Regions from separate parts of the Homo sapiens genome. Here all the other regions are linked to region 1. The links are contacts of gene promoters, found by promoter capture Hi-C in blood cells and fetal thymus (Javierre and others, 2016). All regions are on one chromosome and are shown on one strand. Each heading gives the region's core, a stretch centred on a gene start or on the middle of the fragment in contact. The rest is flanking DNA. Distances are from core to core; before and after follow the strand shown.

Region 1 (3,252 bases), core at 214-2,713:
GAAGTCAATCTGGTGAGAGATTTCATCAGAATAAAGTGTATAAGTGGAGTTGGAAATCTGAGTGATTGAGTGCTTGCCATTTGGGTAAGTGTAATGAGTTTGAAAAACTAATTGTATTGATGAAGTATCTTAGGGCCTTTCAGAACATAGTTCTAGAAGTTTTATTTAGTGTTGAATTTTAAAAATTCTTTGTCCTAACAATAAAAGTACATTGTAGTCTTTCCCTTCCATTTTTAAAATGAACTGTTAATCTAGGAAGTCCTGTTTGTGTGTTGATTTGGGGAGTTAGCCCAACATTTGCTATGTTAAATACTTATTAACATGGTTTATTACTTTTTTCTGTTTTTTAGACAACATTAATCATGAATGTACTGGGACTTGGGAAGGATCCTGTGGTTTATGAGATAGTTGGCCAAATCCCACCTCTTCCAACATAACCTGTCATTATTAAAATATAATACTCTTATTTAATCCCCTGGTCAAGCTAAATGATAATGTGAAACAAAGCTAACCAAAATCAGGACACCTGATATCAAGAATTCATGAAATCAAGAGCCATTGTAGAGCAAGGAATCTAATGCTTTTGCTTCTTATCCTTTTCATACAAATAAAATAAGCTTCACTGGGCTTAGTGAGTCTTAGAAATGAGAGGTTTGAGAATAAGATCCATTGTGGAGTGTGTGACATTACAAAAACAAGCCAACTAAGCAGTGTGTACTGTCCCCTTAGAGTGCACACGTTCGGGCTCCGATGCCCCTTGAAAAGACTGCATTTCTGGGAGGGAAAAGTAAAAATGCAGATACCACCATGCGTGTGGAAGGCAGGGAAGAAAAAGCCCAGACAAGCGTCCTCTTGTTGAGTCTCTTTACTGCAACGAGGCTGACGGATGGGGTTTTTCAAAACGTCGCTGCAACCAGATGCAAGGCTGCAGCTTTGCTTACCGCAGCGTGCTGCAGTTGTGTTTATTTCAGGGACAGACACAAGGGGAAGCAGCAGCCAGAGCACACCCGGGCCGCTCACGGGAAGCCTTGCTGAAGAGAGAGGATCCGCAGAAGCTGGGAAATTCCTCCCGCAGCCTAGGCGGAGACTGAGCCGCGGCTCAGGTTGAGACAGTGGGCAGGGGCAGGGGGCGGCGCTCCCGGCCCATCCCTTAGCCCCGCGGCGGCCGTGTGGGCCGGAGGCTGCCTGCACCGCGTCAGGGAGGCCGGCCTAGAAACCCTCCCTCCCAGAAGAAAGCCGATCCCAGTTCAGGTGGGGTCTTCCTCGGTTGCGTACCTGGCTGGAGCCGAGCTGGTGGGCGGCCGGCAGCCGGCGTTTCTGGTGATGACAGCCCCGAAATGAAAGCAGCGCGGCCGCCGCCTCCGAGGGCTGCAGGGAGATCAGCGTCCAGCAAATAAGAAGCAAGTCCTGGACCCGGAGGAGGAGGAGCGGCCGAGCATCTCTCTCTGCTCCGCCGTGTCCTTTAGATGAGCACTCCCGGCCGGAGCCGGAGGTGGATCCGCAGAGCTGCCTCTGGGCGCCTGACCCCGCGCTGACATCACAACCTGTGACAGGCGCATCACGCCCGGTACCTGCTCCCGGCCGCTGCCCGTCCTCCCAGCCTCTTTGTATGCCGCAGACATGGCCAGCCAGCAGGATTCGGGCTTCTTTGAGATCAGTATCAAATATTTACTGAAATCCTGGAGTAATAGTGAGTAATAGAAAATAACCTTTTTGTTTGTTTGTTTGCTGGATGTTGCATAAGGCTGGAGACAGAAAATCTCAACTGGACACATATGTTTGTGAGCCGCGGAAGTTTTTCTTTTTTTCTTTTCTTTTCTTTTCTCTTTCTTTCTTTCTTTCTTTCTTTTTCTTTCTTTCTTTCTTTCTTTTTTTGCTCCCATCTGCTGTGAAAATCAAAATGTCAGAGACTGAACTAGCTTTCCTTAAGTGCAAAGGCTGCAATGGAATTACAGTAGATTGTGTTTGATTAAATTTTCAAGTGAGGCAGCCCTTCAGACTCTGGGGGAGCTCAGGATCAGGCATTCCTGGCTGCATTTCCTGCCTTGATGTTTATTTGATTTGTTCAGGCTTTCTCTAAATATTTTGTGAAGTGTGATTTAATCAAAGGGGTGTGGCAGGGTTTCAGAGTACTTTGTAATTGTTTTTTTAGGGTATTGTCTGAAGAAAGAAAAGTATTTAATAGTCCAAAACCTAGGACATCCTTTTTGTATATAGAGGCATCTGCAGATTTATTTCATCTCTCCCTCTTCCATGTGGATGATGTTCTGAATGCCATTTAATATTTGAATTTTTAAAAATCCTGATGTTTGCTATAGTCCAAATATTGTGCTTTTTTGAAACATAAACAAGTGAGGTTCTGACCCTAATTATTTATTAGGATAGCAGAATATGATGGCTCCTGAAGTTCCATTTCTGACCTACATAAGGATTTTAGCAATACGCTATTTCAAAAAGACAACCTCTAAGCTGCCGTGGATCTGGAATCAAATTAAAATGAGGCCTTCAGGTGATCAATGATGCCTTGTATTTTCCGAACTGTTTAAAAAGAAAGTCTTCTCTATTTCACTAACAGCCTTTGTACTTGCTTTGGATAAAAGATCAGCAGGTATTACTGATGCTTTATTGTTTTAAATAAAAAAATTTTTTCCCCGTGAAAATTTTAATATTGTATTATGTGCATACTGATTAACCTACCTGTGCTCAAAGAGCTAGTGATTAATTGTCTCCTACACAAATGACCTGTGGCCAAGATTGTTCTTATATAAACAAAACCTGGGCAGGAGAACCTGTGCTGCAATTGCTTTGAGGAAAAGAGCTAAAGTACCTTCAGCCTTAAGGTATTCAGGGATGTGCATCTCTAAATGATATCCATAGAAACCATTTTTTCCAGGTCATTTTGCACCACTGTATACACTATGGGGCTTGTCTGAAGCTGTTTTTCTACAAGTGGGAAGCCATTTGGGAGTAATACTGTTGCCCAAACAGCATTCTTTACTTGTCATAGCTATAAATCATTTAACTTGGACTCATTATTTTTATAATACTTTACACTCAAGGATGAATCTTCCTTTGTCTATCTGCTCTTTGATTAATGAAAAGAATTTGACATACAGTGTTCTTTATGGAGCAGTTTTCCAATAACTGAAAAAACTCACTTTTGAGTTGACATCAGTACGTGGTTTTTAAACATATTTGATTATTCCAAGACCAGACTGTTTTCTTCCATCAATTTTTGTCATTGCATCATTA
Region 2 (2,500 bases), core at 1-2,500, 360 kb after region 1:
TCACCACACATTTTGGTATTTTTCTATTTTGACAGTCCAGTATCAAGGAAATAGCTTTTATACAAATTGGATAGTTGAGGTAGTATGTGAGGTAAAGTTTAATCATATATTAATTGCCCATGAACCTCAGGAGATGGGGGAATGGGGAAATGACAGCAACTAGAAAGAGAAGAATGACTTGAAGGGAAATGAGTTAGGAGAAATTGTGAGAAGGATGTTCAGAAATGCAGACTTTGTAAGCAAACTGGAAATTGGTTACAAGAATAATATGAGTTATCTGTGGTTTGCAGCAGTCAGCAGTGTGATTAGTTAATAATATAGAGACTACAGGTTTACATTTAAACTCCATATCTAGTGTTTTATACAGATTATATTTCTTTGACTTGATTTAATCCCAGATAAGAGACACTGATATTATTTTCCCTAGATCATGTATGCATTTTCTGCTTAAATCTATATATACATTATATAATATTAGCTGGTGTTTATTGAGTGTTTACTATGTGTCAGACCTTGTTCTAAGCTTCTCATTTAATTCTCCCACAACCTTATGAGGTAGGGAACTGTTTTTCTATTTTATCAGTGAGAAACAGGTTAAATGGCTTGCCTTAGGTCAAATGCCAAGTTAGTAAAACTAGGATTCATACTTAGGCCATCGAATGCAGAACCCAGACTAGGAACTGCTATGCAATGCTGCTTCCCAGTAAAATTTGAGATTTCATGAGTTGGTAACTAGTGAAGAATACACAAAAAATAAGCCTCTTAATTCTGTAGTTTAATATTTGAAATGTGTGTTATTCAGAATTTATATAAAAATATATTTTAAAAGCATTAGAGTAGCTGTATAAAGAAAGCTGTGTTGACATTTTACCTAGAGACTCTATGCATAATGAATAACACTCTGCTATATCTAGTTTCTAAATTAGGGGTGGGAGTTGTATTCATTATTTAGTTCCCATACAGCATATCTACTGTTTACACCCCACATTTTCTTTTTTTCTTTCTTTCTTTTTTTTTTTTTTTTTTTTTTTTTTTTAGAGACAGAGTCTTGCTTTGTCACCCCCAGGCTGGAGTACAATAGCACAATCTCGGATCACTGCAGTGTCTGCCTCCTGGGCTCAAGCGATTCTCGTGCCTTAGCCTCCCAAGTAGCTGGGACTACAGGTGCGTGCCACCACGCCCAGCTAATTTTTGTATTTTTAGTAGAGACATGGTTTCACCATGTTGGGCAGTCTGGTCTCGAACTCTTGGCCTCAAGTGATCTGCCCACCTTGGCCTCCCCAAGTACTGGGTTTACAGGCATGAGCCACCGAGCCCGCATTTTCTCTGAGACGTCTTCAAAGGCAGTTTACTAATCCTGCTGAAGAGACAACTGTCATTTACACAGCATTTTAAAGTTTTACAAAATACTGTCATGAATTAGGTTAAACCATATGAAATTGCTGATATTTGACCAGTTGTGATTTCTCAAGCAACAGTTTCATGTAGTTTAACCTATAAATCATTTCAATTAATTCTTGGAACAGACGTGAGGTAGGTGAGGCAATTCTTTCTTTTCTCTAACCAAAGAAGTACCTTTATAGATGTGAGATGATTCCCAGCTATTAAGTAGTAAATAGAGCTAGGACTTGAGCCCCAATCTTCCAGCTTCAATCCAGATCATATGACAGCTTGCTGATTAAACTAGATGACAGAGAAGATCTCTTTCCTTCAGATACACATACTTTTTCTCTGTTCCCCTCTCCCTATCAGCTAGATTCCCCTAAATCACTGATACTGGTTTTGTAATTTTGCATCGGCATGTTTGACAATTGGTATCACATTTAGGGTTTTTCATTCTTTTTTGGTCCAAACTTTTCATTTCTGCTTTTAAAGGAAATACTTTTGGAAACATAAATATGTGGGTTTGCAATTTATAAAGCAGCTTTTCCACTTATTTTCTTAGAATATTGACATACTTTGCAATGAAGCAGAAAACAAGCTTATGCATATACTGCATGCAAATGATCCCAAGTGGTCCACCCCAACTAAAGACTGTACTTCAGGGCCGTACACTGCTCAAATCATTCCTGGTACAGGAAACAAGCTTCTGGTAAGTTAATGTAAACTCAAGGAATATTATAAGAAGTATATATGGAGGCCATCGTATATTCTGTTGTATACCTAGTAAACATGGTAAAATGTAATTAAACTTAATTAGAAAATGTGGTTGTTATGTGGCTCCTGTAAGTATAGTTATTTAGAAATTTTATTTATTGAAGCAAGATATGAAACTCTGGGTGCACACTTTCCAAACAGGTGCTTTCATTTACATGTGATTGAAAAGTGTTTTTTGTCATTTATTTCACTGTTCCATACAATTAGGGTTGTTTCTAAGCTGTTTGTAAGCTGTTTCTAAGCTATTTAAGTGGTTAAATCACAGTAGATGCAAATCAAGCTAAAGTCTTTAACATTGGCTAATGGCTGATTCTTAAATAGCTAATACTTGCTAAGGGTATCT
Region 3 (3,252 bases), core at 224-2,723, 310 kb after region 1:
CATAGCAAGTTCAGACTCTGACTTATATGAACTTTAAAAGTTGGTTTCCGGGAGGCCGAGGCGGGCGGATCACGAGGTCAGGAGATCGAGACCATCCCGGCTAAAACGGTGAAACCCCGTCTCTACTAAAAAAATACAAAAAATTAGCCGGGCGTAGTGGCGGGCGCCTGTAGTCCCAGCTACTTGGGAGGCTGAGGCAGGAGAATGGCGTGAACCTGGGAGGCGGAGCTTGCAGTGAGCCGAGATCCCGCCACTGCACTCCAGCCTGGGCGACAGAGCGAGACTCCGTCTCAAAAAAAAAAAAAAAGTTGGTTTCCGATTATACCATTTACTGGGTAATATATACTACTTAGTTACACTACTTACATAGCTTCAGTTTCCTTATCTATAAAATGCAAATAACACCTCCCATGAGGGCTGGGCGTGGCGCTCATGCCTGTAATCCCAGCACTTTGGGAGGCCGAGGTGGGTGGATCACCTGAGGTCAGGAGTTTGAGACCAGCCTGACCAACATGGTGAAACCCCATCTTTACTAAAAATACAAAAAATTAGCCAAGCGTGGTGGCGCGCACCTATAATCCCAACTACTCCAGAAGCTGAGGCAGGAGAATCACCTGAACCTGGGAGGTGGAGGGTGCAGTGAGCTGACATCACACCACTGCTCTCCAGCCTGGGCAACAGAGCGAGACTGTCTCAAAAAAAAAAAAAAAAAAGTGTATTTAAAGCACTTAGCAGTGAACTTGACATATAGTAGGCAGAGAGCATTCAGTAAGTGTTGGCTTGCTCCCTTTTTTTCATTTAGGAAGTGATCTAAAAACAGTATTGTTAGTAAATGGTATCTTGATCTTAATGTTATGTGGACTATTTTAACTTCCCTTTTAAATGTATATATATCTAACAACTTAGTTCAACTACAGTCATGTGTCATTTGACAGGGATATATGTTCTGAGAAATAGATTGTTAGATTTCATCATTGTGGGAACATCATAGAGTATACTTACACAAACCTAGGTGGTATAGCCTACTATATACCTAGGCTGTATGGTATAGCTTATTGCTCCTAGGCTGCAAACCTATACAGCATGTTACTGTCCTGAATACTCTAGGCAGTTTTAACACAGTGGCAAGCATTTGTGTATGTGAACATAGAAAAGGTACAGTAAAAATACGGTATTAAAATCTTATGGGGCTGGGCTCAGTGGCTCATGCCTGTAATCCCAGCACTTTGGGAGGCTGAGGCAGGCGGATCACCTGAGGTCAGGAGTTTGAGACCAGCCTGGCCAACATGGTAAAACCTTGTCTCTACTAAAAATATAAAAATTAGCTGGGCATGGTGGTGGCACACGCCTGTAATCCCAGCTACTAGGGAAGTTGAAGCAGGAGAATCACTTGAACCCTGGAGGCAGAGATTTCAGTGAGCCAAGATCGCACCACTGCACTCCTGCCTGGGCGACAGAGCAAGACTCCATCTGAAAAAAAAAAAAAATCTTATGGGACCACTATTAAAGTCTTATAGGATGACCATTGCATATGTGGTCTATTGTTGACCAAAATGTCATTATGTGGCAAATGACTGCATTAGGTTAACCTTATACATACCTATATTAGGTATGTATTTGGTTTTGTTTTTTTGTGTGTGTTTTTTTCTATTAGTGTATCTGACTGGTAATAATCTTAAATAATTGAATCTGTTTGTTAGTTGCAATTAAAGCAAATGCCAAAACTCCAACATTTCAGTGGATAATCTTAAATAACTAGTTCCTTTTTAAAAAACCTATAAACTCATAAAAATATTTTAGTTATTAGAACTCTTCCTGTCTAGACCCCATGTATTACAGAGAGACACCGAAGTTAGTCTCCTCATTCAAAAAGTGCCTTTTGCCCCTAAGTCATTCTGGTGGATACAGATTTACTTAATCAAGTGTTGTCCAGGTCACATTCAATATAGGATTTACTTTATGGACAAAGTAGTACGTTTATAGTACTTAAACTATTTGCTGTCCTTTAGTGTGAAATTCTGAGGTATATATGCTTAAAGATATTTGTAATTCTTTTGTGGAAAATAATGGCTTTATTTATAGCAACCCATTCTGTTCTTGTGCATACTGAAGTATATTGACTTTCCACCTAGGGAAAAAAAAAACAATAACTCAGACTTGTAAATGCTTTCAACGGTGTTACTACTTAATTTCCCTCATTTCTGTAACATATAAGTGTATAACTTAGTCAGCTTCTGGTTACTGGAACAGTACAGGTCACTGTTAAACAATTAAACCACTTTTATAATAATCTAACACCTCCTAAAGCCTTGCATGGACATTTTTACTTATTAAATTATACAAATTTATTCCCTGTAATAAAGCATCAAAAAGCAAAGTACCTGTTATATATTATCTCAGCATGACATGGAAATGCCTACCTTGAATTATGGTTTAATCTTACCCTCTTAGCCTCTGTAGAATTTTTAAATAAGAATTGTTTCTATTACTAGTACTTTAATGTAATTTGATAATTGTAAAAAGCCTCTTAACTCTAATTCAAGGACCTACATAATAAATTACTCCTTCAGTTAATGGCTGCCCCCGTGCTGAAAAAAAAAAAAAAAAAGAGAGAAAAAGTTTATTTGAAGAAATTTTGTTAGGCCTTATTGCCAGTAAACCTAGAGTTATATTTAGTGTCAGTTTTTCAAAAAGTAGCTTATCTGTGGTATCTGGTAGCATCTGTTTATCCTATTTAGGATTTATCCTGTTTAGACCCTGTTAAATAGTGGTGTTTTAAAGTGGTCAAAACAGAACAAAAATGTAATTGACATTGAAGACTGACTTTACTCTTTCAAACATTAGGTCACTATTTGTTGTAAGTATTTTTGTTTAACATTTAAAGAGTCAATACTTTAGCTTTAAAAAAATGGTCTATAGACTTTTGAGAAATAAAACTGATATTATTTGCCTTAAAAACATATATGAAATATTTCTTTTTAGGAGAACCCTCAATCAAAAGAAACTTATTAAATGAATTTGACAGGATAATAGAAAATCAAGAAAAATCCTTAAAGGCTTCAAAAAGCACTCCAGATGGTAAAATTAGCTTTTTATTTATATCTGTTCTCCCTCTATAGGTATGGTATATAATATTCTGACCTCAGGTGATCCACCTGCCTCTCAAAGTGCTGGGATTACAGACATGAGCCACTGTGCCTAATCAAGGACCTCTTTATACTCTTAAAAATTACTGAGGACCTAAAAGAGCAT

What was found. Contacts are between HindIII fragments. The CHiCAGO score rates a contact against its expected background, and 5 or more counts as called.
Region 2: a fragment that was not itself captured here is called in contact with the fragment with the promoter of FRY-AS1 in region 1 in 1 of 17 cell types (endothelial precursors); the score reaches 5.5 in endothelial precursors.
Region 3: a fragment that was not itself captured here is called in contact with the fragment with the promoter of FRY-AS1 in region 1 in 1 of 17 cell types (megakaryocytes); the score reaches 6.5 in megakaryocytes.

What each region holds. Positions count from the first base shown.
Region 1 is chr13:32,030,176-32,033,427 of GRCh38, forward strand. FRY-AS1 (FRY antisense RNA 1) reads right to left here and starts at 1,464. Exons shown (of 4, transcript NR_103839.1): 1 at 1,276-1,464. It overlaps FRY (FRY microtubule binding protein), which reads left to right and starts at 1,599. Exons shown (of 61, transcript NM_023037.3): 1 at 1,599-1,690. The coding sequence starts at 1,621. The HindIII fragment of the contact is 3,062 bases long and covers 616-3,252 here.
Region 2 is chr13:32,394,953-32,397,452 of GRCh38, forward strand. BRCA2 (BRCA2 DNA repair associated) reads left to right here. Exons shown (of 27, transcript NM_000059.4): 26 at 1,946-2,092. Among named protein-coding and RNA genes, the nearest start is that of N4BP2L1, 32 kb to the right of the region's middle. The HindIII fragment of the contact is 1,458 bases long and covers 522-1,979 here.
Region 3 is chr13:32,341,576-32,344,827 of GRCh38, forward strand. BRCA2 (BRCA2 DNA repair associated) reads left to right here. Exons shown (of 27, transcript NM_000059.4): 12 at 2,983-3,078. Among named protein-coding and RNA genes, the nearest start is that of BRCA2, 28 kb to the left of the region's middle. The HindIII fragment of the contact is 3,996 bases long and covers 1-3,252 here.